2 separate regions of the Homo sapiens genome follow, and region 1 is linked to region 2. Evidence: promoter capture Hi-C in human tissues and cell types (Jung and others, 2019). All regions are on one chromosome and are shown on one strand. Each heading gives the region's core, a stretch centred on a gene start or on the middle of the fragment in contact. The rest is flanking DNA. Distances are from core to core; before and after follow the strand shown. Region 1 overlaps HADH (hydroxyacyl-CoA dehydrogenase). Region 2 holds the start of CASP6 (caspase 6).

Region 1 (5,556 bases), core at 2,049-4,548, 1.7 Mb after region 2:
ATTGAGTTCCAAAGTCTTCCTGTTGCTCTCTGAAAGTTCCAGACGCTATGCTGAAGACACTTTTGGGAAGACTCCTCCCCCACACACTCCCTAAGGAAAGGTCAAGCCCCACCAGGCCTCCTGCCTGGGACTCTTCACATCAGGGTCTTGCTCCATCAGTCCTACATAAAGCTTGCTTAATTCCTTTCTTGAAGGTCAGGCCCTGCACTTGCTTCCTTGACTATGTTTGTTCTAGCCCCTTTCTCTGCAATAGCACTTTTCTAGCCTTGACCTCTGGCCACACTTGCATCTACCATCCCCTGTACAGATTCCTTGATGGTCACCTGCCTGCTCCTGGCTGACTAACCACCACCTTTGAGCTTTGATCCTCCTTTCTTCTCCACAGGCTACAATGCTGGGAGAAAATCTTGAATCTCCTAGAGAAGAAATTCCGTGAAAGACTCCACAACCAACTGAAACCAGAGCCCATTGAGGTTTGCCAGCCCTAATAACAGCTCCCATACAGAGTGCGTTCCAAATGCCAGACACCAGGCCTATCCTATCTCATTTAATTTTATTTAATCAGTTCTCCAAGGTCAAATGTCAATTTTAATGAAGCATCACTTTAGTTATGCAGTTTGTTCTTTCGAAACAAGATAATTATGATATTAAAATCTGGATTAAATGAGCATATGACTGTATTTGATATTTGGAAGAGGAAAATTCATTCACAGTTACCATTATGCCTATAACTAATTATTCTTCCAAAGAATGAATCCGGGCAACACACACATTTACAACATAAATACTGTACTGACCATTGTGAGGCCCCATTCTTTAGCATTCGAAGTCCTAACACCAACATTATCAAGTGCCTGTAATTGCTCCATTCTCCCACCATTTTTCTTTCTTCAACTTACGGCAAAATGTCCTTGGAGGAGACACTGTGGCTTCACTTGGCACAAATAATAATATGAACACAAATGCACATAAGGGGATGGATATCTCAGATCTCGTTAGTGATGAAACATTCAAATCATCCAGAATACACTTGTATTAATTCTAGGATCATCCAAAAAAAGGCAAATTTTAAGATTGTTTAATGTAAGTTTTAGATCCCCAAAGACCCTAGTTTGAAAAACAATGGCTTGATTTAATCTTTTTGGTAACCATAAGATCAAATATTAAGAAAGAAGGTATCTTGATTAGGAGTTTCCAATACAGAAAATAAAGAAAGAAAGAAAAAAAGAAGGTATATATGGTGAGTTACAGTATAAAATAAACATTTAAACTGAATACAGTATTATCACTTCGTTTAACATTCCTTTTAGTACCACATAACATCCTGAATACTAGTTTAGGGTCATCTTACCTCTTTAACAATAGCCTCCCAGCTGGGCTTCCAGCCTCCAAGCTCAGCTCTCCCAACCCTTAACATCTCCGCAGGGTCATGTTCCTTCCTCCAGCAGACACCCAGGTCTTGAAGTGTAGTAACTCCTAAGGCTGTCCTACACATGTTCTTCAGCTGCTTCTTTTGACCTTAAAAATCTCTTTTCCATCTAACTTCTCTCTTCATTCCTTTCTTGAAAGAATTATCCCTCATTGCTGCTGAGGCCAACCTCTTTCCTATGACAGATATGGAAGTTCATGGTTATGGCTTCCAGTTACTCCTCCTGAATAAAATCTGGGGTTCTTCAAGTTTGGATTATTCATTCACAGCTTTTGGTTACATGTTGATTTGAGGCTACAAACAGAACAAGAAGTGCTAAGTTTCTCTTGGAAGCCAGGCAGCTGCACTGGAGTATACCACAACTTGGACAGCAAGGAAGCCTTTGTACAGTTTGGGTAAAAAAATGCAGAGGTTAGAAAATGCTTCCTTTTGAATGATCAAAGGTTACAGACAAAAACACTTGGCTTCTCAGAGGTGTGTGCTTTTGATCCTCTGCCCAAGACTTGTGCTCCCCTAGGGATGGACCAAAACTACCACTTAGACCACCACGCTGCGCATGCCACTGCATTCATTCCTTCACTGACTGCAGCCTATTGACTCAACACCTGCCTTGTAAGGTGAACAAACAAAATCCCCTACTCTCAAGAGAGCTTGCACTTTTCATAAATTATCTCCTCTGATCTTCATAACTGCCTTTGGGGAAGGCACATTATTCTCACTGTCTACACGTGACAGGGAGCTCAAGCTGCCTGCTCACATGCCTTTCTTGACCCTGGAAGGCATGGCGGGGTCTGAGGGCAACAGCCTGAAACAGTACTGAGACAGGCAAGGGCCAGACTCCAGAGCCTGTGTGCCAAGTTGGGGATGGAAAACATTCCTTAACCTCAGCAGGCTGTCTCCTCATCTATAAAACAGGGGCAACAGGGTTGTTGGGAGGGTTAAATGGGTTAATACAAGTCAAAAACCTGCAGTGGTGCCTGGCACATCACAATAGCTTGCGGGTTTTTTTTTTGTTTTTTTTTTTTTTTAATTCTGGGCTGCCCCCTTCTTCTTTCTGCAAGGGTCTGAGGCCTATTGTTGGATCCAGGCACAGCCTTCTAAGGTAAACTATTTTATTTTGCTTTTGATCTCACATCTTCTGATTTCATGACTTGTTTTTCAGTTTTCATTTTCAAGTTTTCCCTTCTGTGTCCTTCTATTTTTTTACAAACGGGCTGGGATCCTGCTCCATATAAAAAGGGAGGAAGAAAAGGATCCTCCTTAATCACCTGAGGCTGGCCTTTGCTTTACCACCAAAGTCTTTAAATTACTTGGTGGCATGGTGATATGTGGAGAAACAAGCCTATAGTTGGAGTTCCTGGGTTTAAAACCTGGCTATGATTTGAATGTGTCCTCTTCAAAAGTCAGGCACTGCCAATATGATAGTATTGAGAGGTGCGGCCTTTAAGAGGAGATTAGGCCATGAGGGCTCCTCCCTCATGAATGGGATTAAAGGTTTTTATAAAAGGACTTGACGGAGAAAGTTCGTCTAGCTTTCTTCCACCTTCTGCCATGTGCAGACAGCCTTCTTCCCCCAGCAAGACACAACGAGTAGGTCTGCACCAGACACCAAAGCTGGTACCTTGATCTTGGACTTCCCAGCCTCCAGAACTATGAGAAAATAAATTTCTGTTCTTTATAAATTACCCAGTCTCAGGTATTCTGTTAATAGCAGCAAAAAAAAAAAAAAAAAAAGACTAAGACACTGATTTAGCCACTCACTCACTGTGTGACTTTGGGTGAGCTACGAAGCCTCTATGTCTTGGTTTCCTGATCTGTCATAAAGGTTAGTAACAAAGGTACCCACCTCATAAAACTGTTGTGAGGATTAAAGAAGTTAATGTGTTTAACATGCTTAGACCAGTGCCAGGCATGTGAAGGTGCACAAAGCTTGTTAGCTGCTATTTTATTCACTACACTTGGTGCTTCTACTTTCTCCTGAGCCATTAAATTCCTAAACTCTAGTAATATGGCTTATTTCAGTCTGTTAGTGCTGCTATAACAAAATACCAAAGACTGGGTAATGTATAAACAACAGAGATCAAGATCATCAGCATGTTCAGTGTCTGGTGAGGGCTGTTCTCTGCTTCCAAGATGGTGCCTTGCTGCTGCATGCTCTGGAGCAAAGGTCCCCAACCTTTTTTGGCACCAGGAAGACATGGGAGACAATTTCACGGAAGACAATTTTTCTACCGTCTTGCAGGGAAGAGGGGATGGTTTAGGGATGATTCAAGTGCATTACATTGATTGTGCACTTTATTTCTATTATTATTACATTGTAATATATAATGAAATAATTATACATCTCACCACAATACAGAATTAGTGGGAGCTCTGAGCTTGTTCTGCTGCATCTAGATGGTGCCATGTGGGGATAATGGGAGACAGTGACAGATCATCAGGCATTAGATTCTCACAAGGACACGAAACCTAGATCCCTCACATGCACAGTTCACAATAGGATTCATGCTCCTATGAGAATCTAATGCAACTCTTGATCCAACAGGAGGCAGAGCTCAGGTAGCAATGCAAGTGATGGGGAGCAGCTGTAAATACAAATGAAGTCTTGCTAGCTGCTCACATCCTTCTATGTGGCCCGGTTCCTAATGGGCCACGGACCAGAAGTTGGGGACCCCTGCTCTGGAGGGGACGAGCACTGTGTCCTCATATGGCAGAAGGGAGAAGAGGCAAAGTTGGTCTCTCAAGCCCCTTTAAATGGCACTAAGCTGTTCATGAATACAGAACCCTCATGACCTAATCACCTCCTAAAGGCCTTATCTCTTAATACTGCTGCACTGGGGATTCAGCTTCGACATAAATTTTGGAGGGAACACAAACATTCCTATCAGAGTAGCTTCTTCCACCACCACTGCTGCATGAAATTAGATACAGTTGGTCCCCCCTTTATCTGTGGTTTTACTTTCTGTAGTTTCAGTTACCAACAGTCAACTATGGTCCAAAAATATTAAATGGGAAATTATAGAAATAAATGATGCATGTTTTAAATTGCATGTCATTCTGAGTAGTGTGATGCAATCTTGAATTGTCCTGTCTGGGAGGAGACTCATCCCTTGGTCCAGCATATCCACACTGTATACTACCCAATCCATTAGTCACTTGGTAGTTGACTGGGTTATCAGATCAAAAAGACATAGTATGTATAGGATTTGGTACTATCTGCAGTTTCACGCATCCACTGAGGGTCTAGGAATGTACTCCCTCCCCTCGTAAGGGGGGACTACTGTAACTTATCAATGGTCTACTAAATTGCTAAAGTCAATGCCTGTTCTTTGGCTTCATCTTCTACAACAGCTCTGTACATTGCCAATAAAAGTTTCATTTTTGAAACTCTTCAGTTTCTTATCTGTCTGTTCCTTTTAGCCATATTAATTGACCTCTCTTGATCTTCTAAGCCTATAAACAAGGACTTCCTTCAAGGTTCTGTTTCCAATATAATTTCCTTCTGAAATTCCAATCGTTCTCATACTTCCAACTGTGCCTGAAACCAAAATAATCTATCTAAGCTGCAGTTATCACCTTGACCCTAAAATCAATTCTCCTTGGCCTTCATTACTGGTACCACTATTCTGTAGGTCACCATTTTCTGGACAACACTTTTTCCTTAATCCCAACCATTAACTGCTGTCCAGAAATGTTCTATCCATTATTCAGGCCCATTTCAAATGCTACCCTCTCCATGAAGCCTTTTTCCAAATGAATGTACTTTCTATTTTGAAACCTCAGAACTAGATTTTTACTGCTCTTATTGTACTACTTTACACCAAAGTAAACTGTGTCATTTAGATCTCTGTCTAATCTCTGCTCTTAGATTTAAAATCCCTTAATGGCAGAAATTGATTTGGTCTTTGTAGCCCTTAGTACTTATCACATGCCTTGAATATGATAGCTGGTCAATAACTGCTAAATAACAAATGCTTTGGACGGTAGTAACCCGATTCTGTAGTCTTCCCCAGCCACACCACACGTCTCCCTCCTCTGTGCTATCTCATGGCTCTGTGCCCTTGTTCATGTGGTTTCCTCTGCCATACATGTCCGGCTCCCTCATTGCTGCTTCATGGACTTCAACT
Region 2 (4,874 bases), core at 2,046-4,545:
AGACAGGGTTTTGCCATGTTGGCCAGTCTGGGCTCGAACTCCTGGCCTCCCAAAGTCCTGGGATTACAGGCATGAGCCACTGCACCTGGCCATCCATTGATTGTTCCATTCACTAAAGATTTCCCTGTAGCATGTGATGCTGTTTGGTAGCATTTTATCCACAGACCTTCTTTCAAAATTGGGGTCAATCCCCCCAAACCCTGCCACTGCTTTGTCAACTAATACCCTGAATCCTTTGTTGTCATTTAAACACAATTCACAGCATATTCACCAGGAGTAGATTCTATCTCAATAAACCACTTTCTTTGCTCATCCGTAAAAAGCATCTCCTCATCTATCAAAGTTTTATCATGAGATGGCAACAATGCAGCCACATTTTCAGGCCCCACTTCCAATTCTATTTGTCTTGCTACTTCTGCCACATCTACAGTGACTTCCCTCACTGAAGTCTTGAACCCCTCAACATCAGTGATGAGGATTGGAATTAACTTCTTTCAAACTCCTGTTAATGTGGAGATATATGCATATACCTATGTATAATGTATGTGTGTGTGTATATGTGTGTGTGTATATATATATATATATATATATATATATATATATATATAAAATGGATAGGTATGTTGTCCTGCCTGTAAAATACCACCCAGTGTGCCAATTGAAATATATATAATTTTTAAATATTTATATATGTATTTTATATATATTATATATATATATATATATATATATATATATTTTTTTTTTTTTTTTTTTTTTTTTTTTAAAGAGTGTCTTACTCTGTCACCCAGACTGGAGTGCAGTGGCACAGTCAGCTGACTGCAGCCTCAAACTTGGGCTCAAATAATCCTGCCATCTTAGTGTCCTGAGTTGCTGGGAATACAGGCATGTGCCACCACTCTTGGCTAATTAAAAAAAAAAAAAAATTGTAGAGACAGGGTCTTGCATTGTTGCCTAGGCTGGTCTCAAAACTCCTGGCCTCAAGCAATCCACCTTGGCCTCCCAAAGTGCTGGGTTTACAGGCATGAGCCACTGTGGCTGATACATGTACTTTTAATTTTTCGTTTTTCTTTTTTTCCCCCTCTAGTCTCTAGTTACATACCGTAAGTGGATATTTTGACCTCCCATGAATCACAAATGTTCTTAATGGCATCTCGAATGATGAATCCTTTCCAGAAGATTTTCAATTTACTTTGCTCAGAACTATCAGAGGAATCATGATGACAGCTATAGCCTTATGAAATGTATTTTGTAAATAAGACTTGAAAGTCAAAATTTCTCCTTGATCCCTGGGCTTCAGAATGGATGTTGTGTTAGCAAGCACGATAACAGCATCAGTCTCTGTACATCTCTATCAGAACTCTTGGATGACCAGGTGTATTGTCAATGAGGAGTAATATTTTGAAAGGAACCTTTCTTCTGAGCACTAGAGCTCAACAGTGGGCTTTAAATATTCTCTAAGCCATGCTGTAAATAGATGTGCTGTCACTAACTAGCCTTTGTTGGTCCATTTATAGATCATATTTAGCATAATTCTTAAGGGCACTAGGATTTTCAGAATGGTAAAGGAATGTTGGCTTTAAAGTCATCAGTTGTATTAGCCCCTAACAAGAGCATCAGCCTGTTCTTTGAAGCTTTGAAGACAGGCATTGACTTCTCTCTAGCTATGAAAGTCTTAGATGGAATCTTCTTCCAATAGAAGGCCGTTTCATATACATTTAAGATCTGTTGTTTTGGCTGGGCACGGTGGCTCACACCTGTAATCCCAGCACTTTGGGAGACCGAGGCGGGCAGATTGCTCAAGGTCAGGAGTTCAAGACCAGCCTGGCCAAACATGGTGAAACTCTGTCTCTACTAAAAATACAAAATTAACCTGGACATGGTGGCACATCCTGTAATCCCAGTTACTTGGGAGGCTGAGGCAGAAGAATCGTTTGAACCCAGGAGGCAGAGGTTGCAAAAGATCGCACCACTGTACTCCAGCCTTGGTGACAAAGCAAGACTGTCTCAAAAACAAAAGATTGTTGTTTAGTGTAGCTGCCTTTATCAATGATTTTAGCTAGATCTGGATAACCTGATGCAGCTTCTACGTTAGCACCTGCTGCTTCACCTTGCACTTTTATGTCATGAAGATAGTTTCTTTCCTTAAACCTCAGGAACCATCCTCTCTGCTAGCTTCCAGCTTTTCTTTTGCAATTCCCTCACCTCTCTCAGCCTCCATAGAATTGAAGAGTTAGGGCCTTGCTCTGGATTAGGCTTTGGCTTAAGGGAATGTTGTGGCTGTTTTTATCTTCTATCCAGACCAACTAGAACTTTCTCCATATCAGCAATAAGGCTGTTTAGCTTTATTGTCTTTTGTGTGTTTACTGGAGTAGCATTTTTAATTTCCTTCAAAATTTTTTCCTTTGCATTCATGACTTGGCTTTTCTCCTTTGCACTCACAACTTGGCTAACTGGAGCAAGAAGCCTAGCTTTCTGCCTACCAACATTACTTCCTCACTAACTTAATCATGTTTGCTTTTGATTTAAAGTGACAGGCTCTTCCTTTCATTTGGACACTTAGAGGCCTTTGTAGGATTATTAGTTGGCCTAATTTCAAAATTGTGTTTCCAGGAATAGGGAGGCCCCAGGAGGGGGAGAGAGAAGGGAAAGTTCGGTGGAACAGTCCAAACACATACAGGGCTTATGGATTAATTTCCCCTTCCTTTATGAGCGCGGTTCATGGTGCCCCAAAACAATTGCAATAATATTAAAGATTACTGATCACAGATCACAACAGCAGACATAATAACAATGAAAAATTTTGAAATATTGCGAGAGTACCAAAATGTGACACAGAGACACAAAGCGAGCCAATGTTGAAATACAGGCAGTATCTGCTAAGCGGTATAAAACAATCTATGCCTGTACCTCTAGAAAGTACAGGCATAGCAAAGTAAGGAATAGCAAATGTTTGGGGCAGCTGGGATTAAATGAGTCCGAGCTCACACAAGTGATGTGAAATTGCCTCGGGCTAGGCGGTCTGTGTGTCCCCCCGGGTGGCAACTGGCATGTCCCCAGGGCACGGTTAGTCCCAGCGGGCCTGGAGGCGAAGACCGCGTACCTCTCCCTGCCCCCGCGCTCTTGGTCCCCGCGGGCTCCGGAGCGACTGGGAGGAGCTTTAACTCTGGGAAGGACCAGCCCGATCCACGGGAGCCCGGGCGGCGCGCAATCAGAACCAACTGGCCCCACGCTCGGGGGCAGGGGGCGGGGCCGCCGAGGAAGGGCCGAGGGCGGGGCCGGGCCCGGGAGCCTGTGGCTTCAGGAAGAGGAGGGCAAGGTGTCTGGCTGCGCGTTTGGCTGCAATGAGCTCGGCCTCGGGGCTCCGCAGGGGGCACCCGGCAGGTAGGCAGGGGGCGTCGACTGGGCACCGAGCAGGTCTGCGTCTTGCTCCGGCTGGAGGGGAAACGAGGGTTAGTGGACCGGGCGCGCGGACCGGAGTGGGGCCGCGGGTTCCTTCGGCTTTGCAGGGCGGCCTGGAGAAGTTGCACTCTTGGATTGAAGCGCTCAGGGCGGGTGGGGACGGTTTCGCGCTTCAGTCTAAGAAACACTCGGGGACCTGGCTGCCGCCTCCTGGCGGTCCCGAGTAGCGACGCCGGCGCCGGGGCGTGCCCCTGCCGCCTTTGTCCTCCGGGGCGATGAGCGCTTTCGGGGCGCCCCGGCTGTTTAAACCTTAAAAGGCTGTCCCCACGCGGGCCTGGCGTTCCCCCACACCTGGCCGTTTGAAATGTTGGGGGTTGGATCTTTTGTTTGCTCACTTCGAAAAGTGAAAAGGAGGGGTTGTTCCGCCGAGTCATAATGAAAACATAACAGGCCCGCGGGGTGCCCGGGCCAAGACCCTGGGTCCTCCCGGGCTTCAGCTGGAGGCGGCCAGTTCCTGGCGGCCAGCACACCCCGGTATCTCTCTTCTTCATCCAGGAAACCTGCTGCTGTCTGTCGGTTTGAGCCAAAACCACAATAACTTTTTTCTGCAAAGTAATCAACTGCTAAGAGCGTACGTTCTGTCACTTATTACTGGTAAAGTTTAGAAACTTCAAGCCTGGCCAGAGTGAAACAAACAAAAAGGTCGAAACGCCTGCAGTTGGCCGGCCGTGGTGGCTCACGCCTTGTAATCCCAACACTTTGGGAGGCCGAGGCGGGCGGATCACCAGAGGTCGGGAGTTCTCGACCAGCCTAACTAACACGGTGAAACCCCGTCTCTACTAAAAATACAAAAAAATTAGCCAGGCCTGGGCGCAAGCTACTGGGGAGGCTGAGACAAGAGAATCGTTTGAACCCTGGAGGTGGAGGTTGCAGTGAGCCGAGATCGCCCCACTGCACTCCAACCTCGGCGACAGAGTGAGACTTCGAATCAAGAAGAAAAAAAAAAAAAAAGAACGAAACGCCTGCAGTTGGTTAGAGTGCCTTTGTTTAAGAACTCTTTATATTTTGCTGCACAAAGGAAATGGTGCTCCAGAGGCAAGCTGTAAAAGTCACATGGTCGTAGAGGAGGTAGATAGGTAGCCTTGTCCTGGAGGCACAGTGCAGGGTCCAGTTGCAGTCTCTAGGGGCGGGAAGCCGGGGCTTTCCTTCACTCACCTGCTCCCTTCCTCTTCTTCCTCCACCGCACTCCCCAGTGCATGTTCTAGGCCTGATGGAGGTTACTCTACATAGGGTTACTAAATACATTGTTGATGGAGCCGATGGGTAGATTTTCATAGAGAGTGCAGTGAATGAAGACGATGACAGTAGAATGACCGAAGTCGTTTGGGAAGTTGAACAAAGTTTAGAAAGGTAGCCGGTCTCGGGTGGGAGGGGCTGCGTGGGGATGGGCCTACAGAGACTTTGGAATCTGT

Evidence for each region. The method cuts DNA at HindIII sites, captures the fragments that hold promoters and counts their contacts. A contact is called where the count stands out against the background at its distance.
Region 1: a contact is called between a fragment that was not itself captured here and the fragment with the promoter of CASP6 in region 2, in 1 of the 25 tissues and cell types used here (dorsolateral prefrontal cortex).

The regions. Positions count from the first base shown.
Region 1 is chr4:108,000,713-108,006,268 of GRCh38, reverse strand. All of the region lies in intron 1 of HADH (hydroxyacyl-CoA dehydrogenase), which reads right to left. Among named protein-coding and RNA genes, the nearest start is that of HADH, 14 kb to the right of the region's middle. The HindIII fragment of the contact is 3,066 bases long and covers 1,766-4,831 here.
Region 2 is chr4:109,701,866-109,706,739 of GRCh38, reverse strand. CASP6 (caspase 6) reads left to right here and starts at 3,295. Exons shown (of 7, transcript NM_001226.4): 1 at 3,295-3,384. The coding sequence starts at 3,345. RefSeq lists enhancers at 2,874-2,923, 3,814-3,873, 4,634-4,693 and silencers at 3,084-3,373, 3,524-3,633. The HindIII fragment of the contact is 8,740 bases long and covers 1-4,874 here.